6 separate regions of the Homo sapiens genome follow, and regions 1, 3, 4, 5 and 6 are each linked to region 2. Evidence: promoter capture Hi-C in 16 types of primary human blood cells and fetal thymus (Javierre and others, 2016). All regions are on one chromosome and are shown on one strand. Each heading gives the region's core, a stretch centred on a gene start or on the middle of the fragment in contact. The rest is flanking DNA. Distances are from core to core; before and after follow the strand shown. Region 1 overlaps OSBPL8 (oxysterol binding protein like 8). Region 2 holds the start of KRR1 (KRR1 small subunit processome component). Region 3 overlaps OSBPL8 (oxysterol binding protein like 8). Region 4 overlaps ZDHHC17 (zDHHC palmitoyltransferase 17). Region 5 overlaps LOC105369850 (a long non-coding RNA gene). Region 6 overlaps LOC105369850 (a long non-coding RNA gene).

Region 1 (2,700 bases), core at 126-2,625, 1.0 Mb before region 2:
TCTATACAAGAAGATCATCCCCAAGACACATAATCATCAGATTTTCCAAGATTGAAATGAAAGAAAAAATGTTAAAGGTAGGTCATCTGCAAAGGCAACCCCATCAGGCTAACAGCAGATCTCTCAGCTGAAACCCTACAAGCCAGAAGAGATTGAGGAGGGCCTACAACATACTTAAAGAAAAAATTGTTCAACAAAGAATTTCATTTCTAGCCGGCTCATGCTTGTAATCCCAGCACTTTGGGAGGCTGAAGCGGGTAGATCACAAGGTCAGGAGTTCAAGACCAGCCTGGCCAATATGGTGAAACCTGTCTCTACTAAAAATACAAAAAAAAAAAAAATTAGCTGGGCGTGGTGGCAGGCAGCTGTAGCCCCAGCTACTTGGGAGGCTAAGGCAGGAGAATCGCTTGAACCCGGGAGGCGGAGGTTGCAGTGAGCTGAGATCGCGCCACTGCAGCCCGGCCTGGGTGAAACAGTGAGACTCTATCTCAAAAAAAAGATCCTTTTCAGACAAGCAAATGTTGAGGGTATTTGTTAACCACCAGGCCTGCCTTACAAGAGATCTTGAAAGGAGCACTAAATATAGAAAGGAAAGACCACTACCAGCTAATACAAAAACACACTTAAACACACAGACTAGTGACACTATAAGACAACCACACAAACAAGCCAACATAATAACCAGCCAACAACACAATGACAGGATCAAATCCACACATATTAATACTAACCTTCAGTGCCCCACTTAAAAGGCACAGAGCAACAAACTGGATAAAAAAGCAAGACCCAGTGCTATGCTGTCTTCAAAAGACTCACCTCACATGTAATGACACTCATAGGCTCAAAATAAAGGGATGGAGGAGAATCTACCAAACAAACAGAAAACCGGAAAAAAAAAAAAAAAAAAACCCAGGGGTTAGAATCCTAATTTCAGACAAAACAGACTTCAAACCAACAAAGATTAAAAAAAAAAAGAAGGGCATTACTAGTAAAGGGTTCAATCGAGCAAGACCTAACTATCCTAAATTTATATGCACCCAACACAGGAGCACCCAGATTTATCAAGCAAGTTCTTAGAAATCTACAAAAAGATGTAAACTCCCGCACGATAATAGTGGGAGACTTCAACACTCCACTGACAGTATTAGACAAGTCATCAAGGCAGAAAGTTAAAGATATTCAGGACCTGAACTCAACATTAGATCAAATGGATCTGACAGGCCTCTATGGAACTTTCCACCTTAAAACAACTGAATATACATTCTTCTTATCTCCACATGGAACATACTCCGAAAGCAATCACATAATTGGATATAAAACAATCCTTAGCAAATGCAAACGAACCAAAATCATACCAAACACGCTCTTGGACCACAGTGCAATACAAATAGAAGTCAAGACTAAGAAAATCCTCAAAATTCTGAAAGCAATCACATAATTGGATATAAAACAATCCTCAGCAAATGCAAACGAACCAAAATCATACCAAACATGCTCTTGGACCACAGTGCAATATAAATAGAAGTCAAGACTAAGAAAATCCTCAAAACCATGCAATTACATGAAAATTAAACAGCATGCTGCTGAATGACTTTTGGGTAAGTTCAGCAAAGTTTAAGGATGCAAAACCAATATACAAATATCAGTGGCATTCCTATACACCAAAAACAGCCAAGCCAAGAGCCACATCAGTGTCATTCACAATTGCCACAAAAAGAAAAAAGATACCTAGGAATATAGCTAACTGGGGAGGTGAAAGATCTGTATAATGAGAATTATAAAACACTGCTCAAAGAAATCAGAAAAGATGCAGACAAATGGAAAAACCTCCCATGCTCATGGATAGGAAGAATCAATATCATTGAAATGGCCATACTGCCCAAAGCAATTTACAGATTCATTGCTGTTGCTATCAAACTACTATCAGTATTCTTCACAGAACTAGAAAAAAACTATTTTAAAATTCATGTGGAACCAAAAAAGAGCCCAGCAGCCAAAGCTATCCTAAGCAAAAAGAACAAAGCTGGAGGCATCACGTTACCTGACTTCAAACTACGCTACAGGGTTACAGTAACAAAAACAGTATGGAACCTGTAGAAAAACAGACACATAGACAAATGGAACAGAATAGAGAGCCCAGAAATAAGGCTGCATACCTACAACCATCTGGTCTTTGACAAAGCTGACAAAAACAAGCAATGGGAAAAAGACTTTATATTCAATAAATTGTGCTGGGCTGTTCACAGTAACAAAGATATGGAATCAACCTAAATGCCCATCAGTGACAGACTGAAAAAAGAAAATGTACATATACACCATGGAATATTATACAGCCATAAAAAAGAACTAGATCATGTCTTTTGTGAGAACATGGGTGGAGCTGGAGGCTCTCTTCTTTAGCAAACTAACTCAGGAACAGAAAAACAGATACTGCATGTTCTCTCTTATAAGTGGGAGTTAAAGGATAAGAACTTGTGAACATAAAGAAGGAAACAACAGACACTGGGGTCTACTTGAGCGGGGAGGGTTATATGAGGTAGAGGAGCAGAAAAGATAACTATTGGGTACTGAGCTTAATACCTGGGTGATGTAATAATATGTTCAACGAACCCCCATGACATGTGTTTATCTATGTAACAAACCTTCACATGTACCAGCAAACCCAAAATAAAAATAAATTTAACAAGTTAAATGATGCTG
Region 2 (2,700 bases), core at 2-2,501:
GTAGCCCCCTGAAGCTGCTAGGTCAAACTGCCTGAACTTGAAGACGGGCCTTCCACTTATTAGTGATTGAGTTACTTAAAATAAGAATGATAAAAACCTGCTTCATGAGGTGTACTCCTCACTTTATAACTTTCACCTGCTGCTATCTGTTCTATTTTAGGAATTTATCATTTTTTGAGGAAATTAAAAGAACAGAGATAAAATCCCTGTCATTTATAAAACTCACAGGATAAAAACAAAAAACCCCTCTGTCGTGGGTTCTTCTGTCCATATGTAACAATCTGTTTCATACCTGGATCTCATATATGAAAACCTAAATTATTGTATAAGATACACGAGAGTGGATTTATCAGACAAACGTGTATTTCACTAATGCAAGGAATTTAACCTATCAAAGACTTTCCCTATTTGCTGCAGAAAATTTTAGAAATGCAAGCAATAAAATCAAAATTTAAAAAAATCTTATATTTGGCATGTCGAAGAACTCTTATACTTCCAAAAGTGTAGTTATTTGTAGTTAGTGATGAACCTCTCTACACATCTTAGCCCTATGTAATGTTGGGGGTAGAAAAGGAGTTTAGAGATTTTGAGAAATCTTAGGCTAGTTGAAATACTTCAGAAACGTCAGGATGTTGAATTACCATCCCTCTGACTTAGAGAAATACCAACACTCGGGAAGATTACCATCAGAAACAACTTTGAAAAGTTTAATTTTGTCACTGTTTTTAAAATTAGAAATAATGTAAATAAAGTACTGAAACAAAGTAGTCTCACAATAAATAGTAGCTATTCCTGTCACTTGTTGCAGTGGAGGCCCAATATACATTGTATTCTCATATTTGTACTTCCTCCCAACATCTAGCGCATATTTGGCCAACATATAAATATTTATCGAAAGAATGAATGACATCAATGACAGGTTGGTAGCACTCCGCTGTCCGATGGTCCAGGTTAGGCCGTGAGGCCACGAGGAAACTACGGATAAAACAGTATCCAATTTGCCTATACCGCCTGCTAAACTACAAGTCCCAGTACGCAAACTCCATGGTTTCAGGGCATACTGGGAGAAAGTCTCCGGCTCTTCATTGGCCACGTAGGAGAAGCTGTGGTTTGTGTAAAAGCGCGGGCTTAACGCACGTACGCACGGAGACTGCGCAGATCTCCTCGTCTGAGTTCCGCGGAACTCATTTTGAGTGTAGGCGTTTTAGCCGGTAGGGTTTAAGAACAGTTTCATTTCCGGAGCCACCGGAAGCAGCTTGCAAATGGCGTCTCCCTCGCTGGAGCGGCCAGAAAAAGGCGCTGGAAAAAGTGAATTTCGTAACCAGAAGCCGAAGCCGGAGAACCAAGGTGATGTTATGTGGGAACCGAAGCCTGGGGTTTGTGTACGTTGAGTTGCGATGTTTTTTTCTTTCGTTCCTCGTGGACTTATAAAACCACCTGGAGCCTGTACTGTGTAGTTGAGTACCTGAATAATCGCTGATAAGATTTTGGCTGGGCCCACAGGAACGGCTGGCCGATATGGTGCCACCCAGGTGTTCCTAATTCATTGCTTTTGCTAAAGGGTCCCCAAAGCGAAGCTGTTGCGGATTACGTCTTTTGTAAAAGGATGAGTATTAAGAAAATGCCTAGGGCGACGCAGAACCTTGTAAGCCTGCGGGTGGCTGAAAGTCACTGACGGAATGAGGAATAGGGTGAGGTGGGAATAGGTAGTCATGATATACAAGAGTGGACCCTGATAATGGGGTGAGGTATGGGGAAAGGAGCTATCCGACATGTCCTTAGCTCTAGTTTGTCAGTAAAGACATTTTGAAAGATTATCAATTCCTGTTTGTCAGATGCTAAAATATTAGACGACACAGCCCTTACTGTTTAGGTTGTGTTACCTTTTAATTGTTAACTCCTGCGTTGTAGTCTGGTTTTACCCGTTTTCTTCAGTGTGAATGATAGAGAAGTCATAAATAGCCTGGGGATCTGTTCAACCAGGCTTATAGGAAGTGTTAAAAACATTGAACTCTCAATTTAGATGCATTGGGAAAGTATTCAAAGTTTCTTTGTTGTTGCTCATTAAATGATTATGTAACGTACATAGCAGGGGATACAACTTATATAGAGTTTAATAAAACCATGCGGGAAACTAGCATTCAGACTAAGTAAAATAGAGCATTACCATACCCCTCAAACCCTTACGTGCACCTCTCAGATCATATTCTCTTTTCCTGTATCAGACGTAACCACCCTGAATTGTGTTGCATTCTGTTCCTCTTCTTGTAGTCATGAAGTGGCTTAATTTAGCCTGTTTTTTAATTTTATATACATGAAAGTGGACCGTATGCATTTTTCTGTGTCTTCTTAGATTTAGCTTTTTGTTTTTCAAACAGGGTGATACTTGCGGGTGTAGTTTTAGTCTTTTCACTGTTATGTGGTGTTTCCTTGTATGAATATACCCCAATTTATTTTTTCATTTTACTATCGGTGGACATTTGGATTGTTCCCAATTGCTTGCAATTATAAACAATACTGCTAAAACATCTTTGTACATGTCTTCTGGTTAACATGTTCAAGGGTTTCTCTAGGTTGTGAACATAGGATTGGAATCACTGAAGTGTAGGGTGTGTGTAAGTAATGCTAACTTTTTTCCAAAGTGCTAGTGTCAGTTTTGTTCCCACTAGGAGTGGACGAAAGTTGTCATTGCCTTACATT
Region 3 (2,700 bases), core at 170-2,669, 1.0 Mb before region 2:
CTGAGCAATATAACACATCAAATTTTTATGTGTTTGTAAATATTTTAGTGACTACATTGATGTATAATATATGGGTTCAAAAAGCAAAAGTCGTTAAGGTTATTCTTTAACCTCTACATTCTCTACTCTGAGTCAAGGTCTCTAATTGGTATGGCCTTGATGTAGATGGAGCAGATAAAACCTTGTTAGTTAGCTGACTGCCACTATATAACAGCCTTTCTCAATAAAGAGACTTAAATTAATTTAACCCTGTAACTTTGTTGTCCTCAGCAATCTCCATTGGTGCTACTGCGTTTAAAGGTCAGTATTACTGTCTTTATTTATTTTATTTTATTTATTTATTTTTTAGACATGGAGTCTTGCTCTGTTGCCCAGGCTGGAGTGCAGTGGCACGATCTCAGCTCACTGCAACCTCTGCTTCCTGGGATCAAGTGATTCTCATGCCTCAGCCTCCTGAGTAGCTGGGATTACAGGCACCCACCACCATGCCCAGCTAATTTTTCTATCTTTAGTGGAGACGGGGTTTTACCATGTTAACCAGGCTGGTCTTGAACTCCTGACCTTAAGTTATCCACCTGCCTCAGCCTCCCAAAGTGTTGGGATTACAGGTGTGAGCCACCGTGCCTGGCCTGTTGTCCTTTAATATTTTATTTCTCATTGTGAATCTCTCTCATCGTACATTTCTGTAGATTTCTCTCATTCAGAGAACTTAATTTGCTCAAGTTATTACTATAACTATTATCTTTGTTATCTCTTCTCAGTGATAAGACATTGAAAATAATACTTTTCTGTATATGAAACACTGTTCTATAAGCAAAATCTTAAGATTTAAGTTAGTTTGCACATCATAACAGTGGTAACCCTGCATTCTTTAATTAAACACGTTTAAATGTATAAATGTAAAAACAGTTTAAAGTTATAAATGCCCAGGAATCCTGATCTTGGTCATACTATGTCTGTTGAAATACAATTTTAGTGTCTTGATACCTTTTAAGTAGTATGCTATGAAATAATTCTTGTTGTAGCTGATTAGTTACTTGGGCAGATTTTCTTGTATCTTATTTTCCAAATACCAGTCATTTATAGAAATCAGACTTTGCAAAATGTAAAGGCTTTCATAGTTTCAGAAGCACAGGGACAGCTGCACAGCAAGTCCATATGTTGCTTAGCTATAATTATATTTTAATAATTATAATTTTTTTTTCTTTTGGGAAGAACTGTGGCTAACCTCCAAGAGACTGAAGCTGGTAATTGTAAGCATTCTCATTTTTTAAACACAAAGATAGAACTTTTTATTTTTCTCTGTTTTAAATGGTTGAATATATTTATCATGTATCATAGCATCCACTGGATGAAGTTACATTTCTGGGTCCTACTGTAACATTTAAATGAGTGTTCGCGTCAGATGGGAAGATTACTCGTTTTTTTTTTTTTTTTTTTGATACTCCTATATATGGATTTGCTGCCACAGGCATGCTAATTTTGCCATCTCATACATATGACTTGCTCCTTTCCGCCTCCGTTCTTCTGCACATTACCATTCCCTCCACCTGTAGGTCTCTCCTTCCTTTCCACCCATTTCCTTTTCTCTTTTCAAAAGTGGCATCTTAAGATAATTTCCTCTAGAAATTCTTTCAGGATTTATTCCATGTTACTTTTACTTATTTTCTTTGCTTCACCTTAACACTTACCATGGGTAGATACAAATTCAACTAATATGAATTGTGTTGCTGTAATTTACCAGCATACATAGTGTTAAGTAGTACAGTGATAAGATTAACTATCTCATCTATTTTTTACAGCTATCCTGTGAGTTATTCCCATTTTTACAGACAAAATTAATTATCTCAGTTACACTCTTGGTTTTAGTTGGGCTTGATTTTTTTTTTGGTATTTTTAGTATTTAATATTTAGTATTTTAGTATTTAGTATTTGGTATTTTTAGTTTCACCATGTTGGCCAGGCAGGTCTCTAACTTTTGACCTCAGGTGATCTGCCCGACTCGCCTTCCCAAAGCGCTAGGATTACAAGTGTGAGCCACCACACCAGGCCTAGTTGTGCTAGATTTTTTACATTTTTTCTGATTTTAAACATTGTTACTTAAACAGCATCATTTTGCCTTTCGCTACTTCTGTAGTCTTTCCTGCTTTCCACCTCACACCCCCCCAATATCACTTAAAAAAAATACTAAAAAAAACCCAAACTACTTTATTCAGGTATAATTTACACCTGAATAAAATGAAACCATTTTAAGTACATAGTTTGATTCATTTTGACAGATGTATACACCCATGTTACTGCTACCACAATAGATACAGATATAGAACTTTCCATCAGTCCCCAAAATTCTCTTGTGCCCTTTGAACTTAATCTTTCCCTTTCCTACTCTATGTCAGACAATGACTGATTCGGGTTCTGTTACTGTGGATTGCTTTTGTCTGTTCTAAGATTTCATATGAACGGAATCATAGAGTATGTACTCTTGTCTGGTTTATTTTGCCCTGCATATTTTTGAGATTATTCCTTTTTATTTTGGGATAGTATTCCATGGTATAGGAATACTATTACAGTATTGTAATGAATATCCAATTTGTTTATCCATTCACCTTTTGATAGACATTTGACTTGTTTGTAATTTTCGGTTATTGTAAATGAAGCTACTGTGAACATCCATGTACAAATTTTTGAGTGGACATGTTT
Region 4 (2,700 bases), core at 164-2,663, 1.3 Mb before region 2:
TTTAGTAGAGACGGGGTTTCTCCATGTTGGTCAGGCTGGTCTCGAACTCCCGACCTCAGGAGATCTGCCAGCCTCAGCCTCCCAAAGTGCCGCAATTACAGGCGTAAGCCACCAAGCCCGGCCAGCACACTGCATTTTAAGACACCTTAACTGTTCAATGCTGACTACCTTAACATACCCTTACAACCCTCTCTAGGAGGAAAGGAGGACCACGAATCATTTCTAATTTTAAAAAATACACACAGACACACTCTCCCTCATCTATCCTGAGGTATCTGAAGGTCTACAGTTAATCTTACATCATTTTACAATGTGTTATTTTGTAAATGTTATTACTTCGGAGCCTAGCAAAGGGTCAAGACCATACTTGGATTCTCAATAAACACTCCCTTGTAGCAAAGCACACGTCTTTAAAAACATCAAATAGGGCAAAAGGGCTTATAATAAGAAGTCCTCTGCCCATCTTCTCTTCAATCCCCAGAGACAACCAATACTAATTATTTTAGCCACTCTAATATATGCATACTACAATTGTTTATCAATTTGAGGTACTACTTTTTACCACAATATTAATAGCCAACACTTATTGTTGTTTACTAAGTGCCAGACACAGAACTTCACATGTATTATCTCACTTAATCCTCACAACAGCCTCATAAAGTAGGTGTTATTATACCCCCATTTTAGTTTGGAAAATTGGGATGCAGAGTTCAATAACGTGCCCAGGATTGCAAGCTAGTGAGCAGAATTGAGATTTGAATCCTAACACCATTGCTCACTTTTAACCTATATACTCTTATATCCACCAACTCCACAGTCCACTCTTAATAAATACTTTTGAGATCCTCCCAAATTAAATAAAAATAATGAACAAAATAAAACAAGCCGAATCAGGAAAATGACATTTCTCAAAACCAGAACAATTTTTTGGTCAGTAATTTTCAACTCTGGCTTTGAGCACAATCCATGAAGTCTCACCAATTAATCACATTTTAATTTTATATCTATTGACTCAGTGATTACTAAGCTTAATAGTAATGCTCAGTGGTTACTGGGCTTAACAGTGGTCACTATACTAAGCATAGTAGTTACTAAGCTTAATATATAGTATTTTAAAATATACATTATTTTAAAATCTAGATTATTATTATATGACCTATAACATTTTTGCTGAATTTTTTAAAAGGCATCAAATCCTAGTGACTGCATAAAGAAGTGCTTTGAAGGAAAAGAGTTGCAGGTAACCTATGGGAAGAAAAACAACTTTCAAAGTCATTTTGTATCTGCTTTCTGAAAGCAAATGAATTACCTTATATGTGTACAAATACATATATATACACACACACATATAATATATACATAATAGGGCAAAAAGTAATAGAAAATGGCAAAATTCTTTTCACTAAAGAACAGCTTCATGGCCGAGCATGGTGGCTCATGCCTGTAACCCCAGCAGTTTGGGAGGCCGAGGCGGGTGGATCACCTGAGGTCAGGCGTTCCAGACCAGCCTGGCCAACATGGTGAAACCCCATCTCTACTAGAAATACAAAAAATTAGCCACGTGTGGTGGCAGGCACCTGTAATCCCAGCTACTCGGGAGGCTGATGCAGGAGAATCGCTTGAACGCAGGAGGCTGAGGTTGCAGTAAGCCGAGATCACGTCATTGCACTTCAGCCTGGGCAACAAGAGCGCAACTCCATCTCAAACTAAAGCAAAAAACCAAAAGCTTCAAAAAGTAGATTTTATGAAATCTGTGAGGACAGTAGATAATAGCAATAGTTTGATTTAATATTCAAACAGAAATCATCAGAAATAATAAAATGAATGTGAAATAAAAAACGTTACCATAAAAAGAGAGACGAAAATGAGAAAAAAAGGCAATAGCAGAAGTTTTGAAATAGAGAAAAAAGGAAGAAAGAAAGAGATGAAAGCCCTAGATAATCTAGGCAATCCAGTTCAAAGCTCTGAGTCAGATGGTTCTGAAATAGCCCCTGTGATACTGTGGCAGAAGGGGATATTGTGATCTCATTCTATCAAAGAGCTGAGATGACTTACTGAGGATGTACTAGTAGGTAAAATGGAAGCTGGTCATGGCTAGTCTGCTGGACCAGTAGACCAACATATGGTCTCTGTCCCTCTACGGAAGCCTTTCTTCTAACCACTCTAAATGACAGGAATCTGACACCACTTACAAGCTACATTACTTAATTCAGTACTTATTTGAATCGTCCAGTGTTTCACGTGCCTACAACTTCCCAACTAGTTATTTACCTTCTGGAAAACATATGCTATCTTTTTTATGTTATTTTAACCCATATAACCTAACACAATGCTACGTACCTAGTAGACAGATGCTCAAGTTGATTATATTGAAAAATCACAATTTAAAACCAGAACACTTGAGTCTGAAGAAATCTTAGAGGTCATCTAGTCTAGCTACTTTATCTTAAAAGCAACAAAACTGAGACCAGTTAAATACCTACTAGCTCAAGGTCACTGAGCTAGAACTAGTACCCTAATCCCTTGATCATCAGTTCTTCTTTATCCAAAGAGCCTTTAATTTCTTTCATTTCAATAAAACAAATAATCACCTATTTCAAAAGAAAACAAAGTAACAGCAGCTTCCCTTTCAGTATTCACTATATGCCAGGGCCTTCAGAAGGTACAATTTGCTTGGCAGCCTATGTGCCTAGGTCTATG
Region 5 (2,712 bases), core at 37-2,536, 1.1 Mb before region 2:
TGTAATAATTAAGACTCACTGAAGAGCAAGAATTAGAGTTCAGACCCTTCAGAGATGATGATCTGGTTGCCCCCACCCAGTCAAGCAACACAGACTCCCTGAAATGGTAGCCAGGATGAGACAAACTAGAATAATCTTTTTCACATCCTTTCAGCCTACCTTTTATACCAACTATTGCTATGGCAACCAGTTTTGTGCAACTGTACCACATATTTATCATTTCAAAACCTGTGCTGCTCTGATGATATGGCATGGATGCCAATGAGAACCCACTCTGCGCTTAGGCATGTACAACCTGGAAGAGTAAAGAAGTTAACACTCTCTGGGACAATCTTTGACTGCACTTGTAATCTATTGCTGGATAACAAGTTACCAAATCTAGCAGCCTAAAACAATAACATGTATTATATCCCAGTTTCTGTGGTCAAGAGTACAGACACAGCTTATTTGGATTTTCTGCTTCCAGGTCTCTCCAGGCTAGAGTCAATGCATCAGGTGGGCTGTGTTCTCATTGGGAAGCTCATCTGCTCCCAAGCTCATATGGTTTGCCGAACGAATTTATTTCATTGAGGATATAGGACTGAAAGCTTCAGTGTGCTGGTTGGCTGTCAGCTGGAGGATGCCATTAGCTCCTAGAGTCCATTCAAGTTGCCTGCCATGTGGTCTACTCCATAGGCAGCAACATAGCAGTTTGCTTCTTCATGGCCAGCAGAAGAGTCTACTAGCAATATGAAGTCTTACATAACATAATGTTATCATAGGAATGCCATTCTGTCACCTTTGCCATATTCTATAAGTTAGATGCTTCACAGATTCCTCCCATATTCATGGGATGTAATTAACAGGGGCATTGATATCAGAAAGTGGGGGTCATTGGAGAATCAGCCTAGGTTCTGTCTGCCAGTCTTTCCTCAGGCCCTCCCATATGAAATATATGGTTTCTCCCCTTCCAAGGTTCCTGTATTAGTCCGTTTTCACACTGCTGATAAAGACATACCTGAGACTGGGAAGAAAAAGAGGTTTAATTGGACTTACATGGCTGGGGAGGCCTCAGAATCATGCTGAGAGGTGAAAGGTACTTCTTACATGGCGGCGGCAAGAGAAAATGAAGAAGATGCAGAAGTGGAAACCCCTGATAAAACCCCTGATAAAACCATCAGATATCGTGAGACTTATTTGCTACCATGAGAACAGTATGGGGGAACCTCCCCCATAATTCAAATTATCTCCCACCAGGGCCCCTCCCACAACCCATGGGAATTGTGGGAGTACAATTCAAGATGAGATTTGGGTGGGGACACAGAGACAAACCATATCAGTTCCCAAGAGTTTCATTCATTATAGCATCAGCTCAAATTCTAAAATTTCATCATGTGAATCAAGTCCAGGTGCAGATGAGCCTCCTACGTATAACCTGTTAAGTAAAGCTCCTGGACACAATTATTCTCTAACTATGGACCTCTGAAACCAAGGAAATGAGTTATCTGCCTCCAACACACCCAACATACAATGGTGGGACAGACACAGGATAATAGCTATAGACATTCCAGTTTAAAAATAGGGGAAATGGGTAGTAAAAAGGAGTCACTAGTCTATAGCAGTTTTGAAATACAACTGGATTTATTGGAAGTTCCTTAATTAAGTTTCTAGGCTTGGGAATGATTCTTCATGGCTCTTGGCTCTGCTTTCTGGGTTCTTGGTTCCACCATCTGAGTCATTCTTCCTTTTTCATGGAAGGTAGCATGTGTTTGCAGATGAGTAGTTTTATCAGCCTGCTTTCTGCCAGTAAAATTTTGGAGGTCTGACAGCCTCTTTTCATTTTCTAGTCTTTCTGTCTGTCTTATTCCAAGTTGGCACTGTTTCTGCAGAAATAATTTTCTCAAGAATGTTGTGGTTCTTTCTGTATTTCAGTGGCATTCACTCTTATCAGACAAAGGCCACATCTACAGATTGTTTCAAAAATAATTCCATCTCCTTTAAGCTTCCTAGAGGCTCAATAGTGTGATTGAGAGGATCTGAGGCATACCCTTAGATCTTTTCAAATCTAAGGGCCGTATCTTGAAATACCCCTGAGTACTCTGACCTTTGATCTTTTGGGGGCTTTAAAAAAGATTATAGAGTAACTTCAAGTGCATTTTCTCTAGAGTAGGCTTTTCTGACAGTGCCCAAAAGCCATCTCCAACTGTTAATATTTTTTGCCATCTGGGGAAGATGAGGATTTTTTAAATTATCAAGTCCTGATTCCTTTTTGCTTAATAGTTCTTCTCTCAATTTGTCTCTTTTCTTGAATTTTCCTGTAAGTAGCAAGAAGAAACCAGTTGTCCCCTTCAACACTTTGCTTGGAAATCTCCTTAACTATATAACCAAATTCATCCATTTACAAGTTCTGCTTTCAACGTAATTGCAAGAAATAATTTCACTAAGCTTTACGCCAGTACATAACAAGGATCTCCCTTCTTCCAGTTTCCTATAGCATGTTCCTTACTTCCTTCTGAGTCCTCAACAGCAGTCTTCAATATCCACATTTCTACTGAGAGTTTGTTCGCAGTGATTTGGGATTTGTCTATCATACTTTTCAAGCATTCTTCTAGTCTCTGTCCACTGATCAGTTTCAAAGCCACAGACATATTTTTACATATTTATTACAGTAGCATTCTACCTCTAGGCACCAAAATCTCTATTAGTTTTCCAATTCGATGTAACAAATTAACA
Region 6 (2,700 bases), core at 68-2,567, 1.1 Mb before region 2:
GGGGTTTCACCGTGTTAGCCAGGATGGTCTCCATCTCCTGACCTCGTGATCCACCTGCCTCGGCCTCCCAAAGTGTTGGGATTACAGGCGTGAGCCACTGCGTCTGGCCAGAGACCAAAGTTTTATTGTGTAGAGGAAGCTTTTAGCTAGCAGGCTTCAGAGAGAAGAGGCTGTACAATGTTTTCTTATCGGATTTAAAAGGATGCCTGACTCTTAGTTGATTATCTCCTGGATCTGGAAAGAAAAAAAAAAGGGCAGGGAAAGGCGGTTCTCTACAGAATGTGGATTTTTCCCAAAAGAGACAACTTTGCAGGGCCATTTCAAGAATATGACAAGGAAATACACTTGGGTTTTAAAATATTTTGATTTATTTCCTTGTTATGTGATGTTATGCCAGAGTCAGGTGAGAAAGAAGGTCAGATTATAGAGGGTTAAATAAAACCTCTCTGATGAGACTTTATGGTTTGCAGGGTGTGTCTCCCCCAGGCCCCTTAGGTAGGAATTTGGGCAATATAAGAAAAAAAAAGTCAGTGTTTAGTCTTCAAGACCCAAATGAGCTAGACTGGTGGGGAATGGGGGATTTATAATAAGTAATGAGTTTGCCTCACAGAACCCAAGGACAGAGATACAGCAGGACTTCAATGGCCAGCTGGAAGCAAGGCCCCACACACCATCAGGAAACCAAGAGGCCCTCCTTCGCAGGCCTCAGCTTCCCCTCCAAGTCTCCTTCATTCTTCAGTCTCTGCACACTGTCTCTCCCTGTTTTTCGGGACATGGAGCAGAAAGTATTAACCATCAACAACTCCCACACTAGATTATATCTCCTATGTTTGAAAGAGTTGAAATCTTTGGTCTCAATTCCAAATCTCAAAGGAAGGAGTCTCATTGGCCCAGTTTGGTCCCCAGCATGTCCCTAGAATGAATGTCTATCCCTAAGAGGAGAGAAGAGTGTCACAGTTGAGGAAGACTGTATCTTCATATGGATTGAGGAGGTGAGCTCCAAATTCCCAGAACACAGAGAAAGAGGACATTTCCTAGCAAATCAGAAGACTTGGTCCAAAAGATGTTCTATGGATGCCTCTCTAATTAATAAGCAGATTCTTTAAAAAATGATTCTACCTTAGTTGACTGCATTTATGCCTTTCATGAATAAAGTCACCCTATTCCATCGGAAATATAATGTACTCTTGATAGATTCAGGAGGCAGATGAGGGAGGGTACTCAGAGAATCTCCAACTCACCCCACAAGTGTTTACATCAGATGCTTTTCGTGCATATGAGAGAACCTGCCCAGGGCCTTGTCTGGGCATGCCCACATCTGACTGGGGGACCGCCCGCGCACTGGGAGAGTGGGGTGGAGCCACCGGGAATTCGCACCTTGAGCACGGCAGAGGAGCCTAGCCTCTTCACCTCGTGTGTGCTGGCCGGGCATTCAGTCTGTCAGTTGGGAGCCTGTTGGCAGGCCCCCTTTTCTTCACTGAGAGCTTTCTTTTAATAAATTTCACTCTCCTCACCTTTCAATGTGTCCACATGCTTAATTTTTCGTGGTCATGTGACAAGAACCTGGATTTTAGCTGAATTAGGGAGCAAAAAATCCTGCATCACTCTGTATCAGTATATTTCAGGTTTATTATCAGTACTTATTTGTGATGGTTGGCGTTTTCAAGGCAGTATTTATAGCCTCACTCAAATAAATTCATGTTCCCATTTCAACTGATTGATTTGGAAGAAAGGCTCACATGCTTATGTGTCATTCTGACCCACGTGAACTCTTCACTAAAAAAGTTAAAAGTGTTTCAAGCTAATAAACACTAAGAAGCAATGATCTTTTCTTGCTTTATTGGGGGAATGAAAGGAGGGGAATCAAGAGAGAAGAGGCATTTTTCAATTTACCAAGGTTTGAGCATGTATATTTAATTTTTACCTGAGTGATCTATTTTCTTCTACTTATTATAGTAATCTATTTTCTTAATTTCAAAAATATGAAATAAAAGTCATTTAGGAAACATTCAGTAAAAAGTTGCTGTTGCCTAGCTTTTCCATACCTGGAGAGTTTGGAATTTCTAGCAGAATACAAAGAATGGGAGAAATTTTGATTGCCCAAGAAAATGGCCATTCATTCATTCAATCAACAAATATGTATTAATCTCATGCTATTGCCTGGTGCTTGGCATACAGTGATCAGTGAAATAGACAAACTCTCAGCATTTCTGGAGATTACATTCTAGGAGGAGAGATGGCAAATAAACAAACAAATACATGAAATTGTGTCATGTGGTGATAATCAATATAAAGGAAAATAAAAAATAGTATAAAAAGAGAGAGTGAAAAGGGTGCTAGGTTAACCATCGTGAGCAATCAAGGAAGCCTCTTTGGAAAGGTGATACATGGGTAAAACGATAAACCAAAGGAGAGTCCACCATGCTAATATTTGAGAGATAAGGGCCTTTGAAACTGAGTTTTGGTTGATTCCAGACAGGCTCTAACAAGCTTTTTAAAGTCTTCAGGTGAATCTTTCTATGGGACATCTTAGTTTGGGCAAGGAGGGCAATGGTTCCTATACCCTCCATCAGCCCTCCACTGCAGGCTCTGGCTCTGTTCCATGATTATTCTCTTGCTTCTCTTTGGCCACAAAAAACAATTACTCTGCCAAGTGCCTCAGTTATTCAGACTTTCTGGAGAATGCCACAGCTATTTCCA

What was found. The method cuts DNA at HindIII sites, captures the fragments that hold promoters and counts their contacts. A CHiCAGO score of 5 or more calls a contact.
Region 1: a contact is called between a fragment that was not itself captured here and the fragment with the promoter of KRR1 in region 2, in 2 of 17 cell types (total B cells and naive B cells). The highest score is 9.9, in total B cells.
Region 3: a contact is called between a fragment that was not itself captured here and the fragment with the promoter of KRR1 in region 2, in 1 of 17 cell types (total CD4 T cells). The highest score is 6.5, in total CD4 T cells.
Region 4: a fragment that was not itself captured here is called in contact with the fragment with the promoter of KRR1 in region 2 in 3 of 17 cell types (naive B cells, total B cells and non-activated CD4 T cells); the score reaches 7.5 in naive B cells.
Region 5: a fragment that was not itself captured here is called in contact with the fragment with the promoter of KRR1 in region 2 in 4 of 17 cell types (total CD4 T cells, naive B cells, non-activated CD4 T cells and 1 more); the score reaches 7.4 in total CD4 T cells.
Region 6: a contact is called between a fragment that was not itself captured here and the fragment with the promoter of KRR1 in region 2, in 1 of 17 cell types (total B cells). The highest score is 6.5, in total B cells.

Annotation. Positions count from the first base shown.
Region 1 is chr12:76,511,953-76,514,652 of GRCh38, reverse strand. The region is part of intron 1 of OSBPL8 (oxysterol binding protein like 8); the gene reads left to right. Among named protein-coding and RNA genes, the nearest start is that of OSBPL8, 46 kb to the left of the region's middle. The HindIII fragment of the contact is 3,113 bases long and covers 1-2,700 here.
Region 2 is chr12:75,510,160-75,512,859 of GRCh38, reverse strand. KRR1 (KRR1 small subunit processome component) reads left to right here and starts at 1,251. Exons shown (of 10, transcript NM_007043.7): 1 at 1,251-1,347. The coding sequence starts at 1,263. RefSeq lists enhancers at 1,284-1,443, 950-1,493, 1,494-2,038. The HindIII fragment of the contact is 5,214 bases long and covers 1-2,700 here.
Region 3 is chr12:76,535,557-76,538,256 of GRCh38, reverse strand. All of the region lies in intron 1 of OSBPL8 (oxysterol binding protein like 8), which reads left to right. Among named protein-coding and RNA genes, the nearest start is that of OSBPL8, 23 kb to the left of the region's middle. The HindIII fragment of the contact is 6,225 bases long and covers 1-2,700 here.
Region 4 is chr12:76,768,079-76,770,778 of GRCh38, reverse strand. The region is part of intron 1 of ZDHHC17 (zDHHC palmitoyltransferase 17); the gene reads right to left. Among named protein-coding and RNA genes, the nearest start is that of ZDHHC17, 5.3 kb to the right of the region's middle. The HindIII fragment of the contact is 630 bases long and covers 1,099-1,728 here.
Region 5 is chr12:76,590,722-76,593,433 of GRCh38, reverse strand. All of the region lies in intron 3 of LOC105369850 (a long non-coding RNA gene), which reads right to left. Among named protein-coding and RNA genes, the nearest start is that of OSBPL8, 32 kb to the right of the region's middle. The HindIII fragment of the contact is 1,394 bases long and covers 590-1,983 here.
Region 6 is chr12:76,606,922-76,609,621 of GRCh38, reverse strand. The region is part of intron 3 of LOC105369850 (a long non-coding RNA gene); the gene reads right to left. Among named protein-coding and RNA genes, the nearest start is that of OSBPL8, 49 kb to the right of the region's middle. RefSeq lists an enhancer at 545-1,744. The HindIII fragment of the contact is 2,351 bases long and covers 142-2,492 here.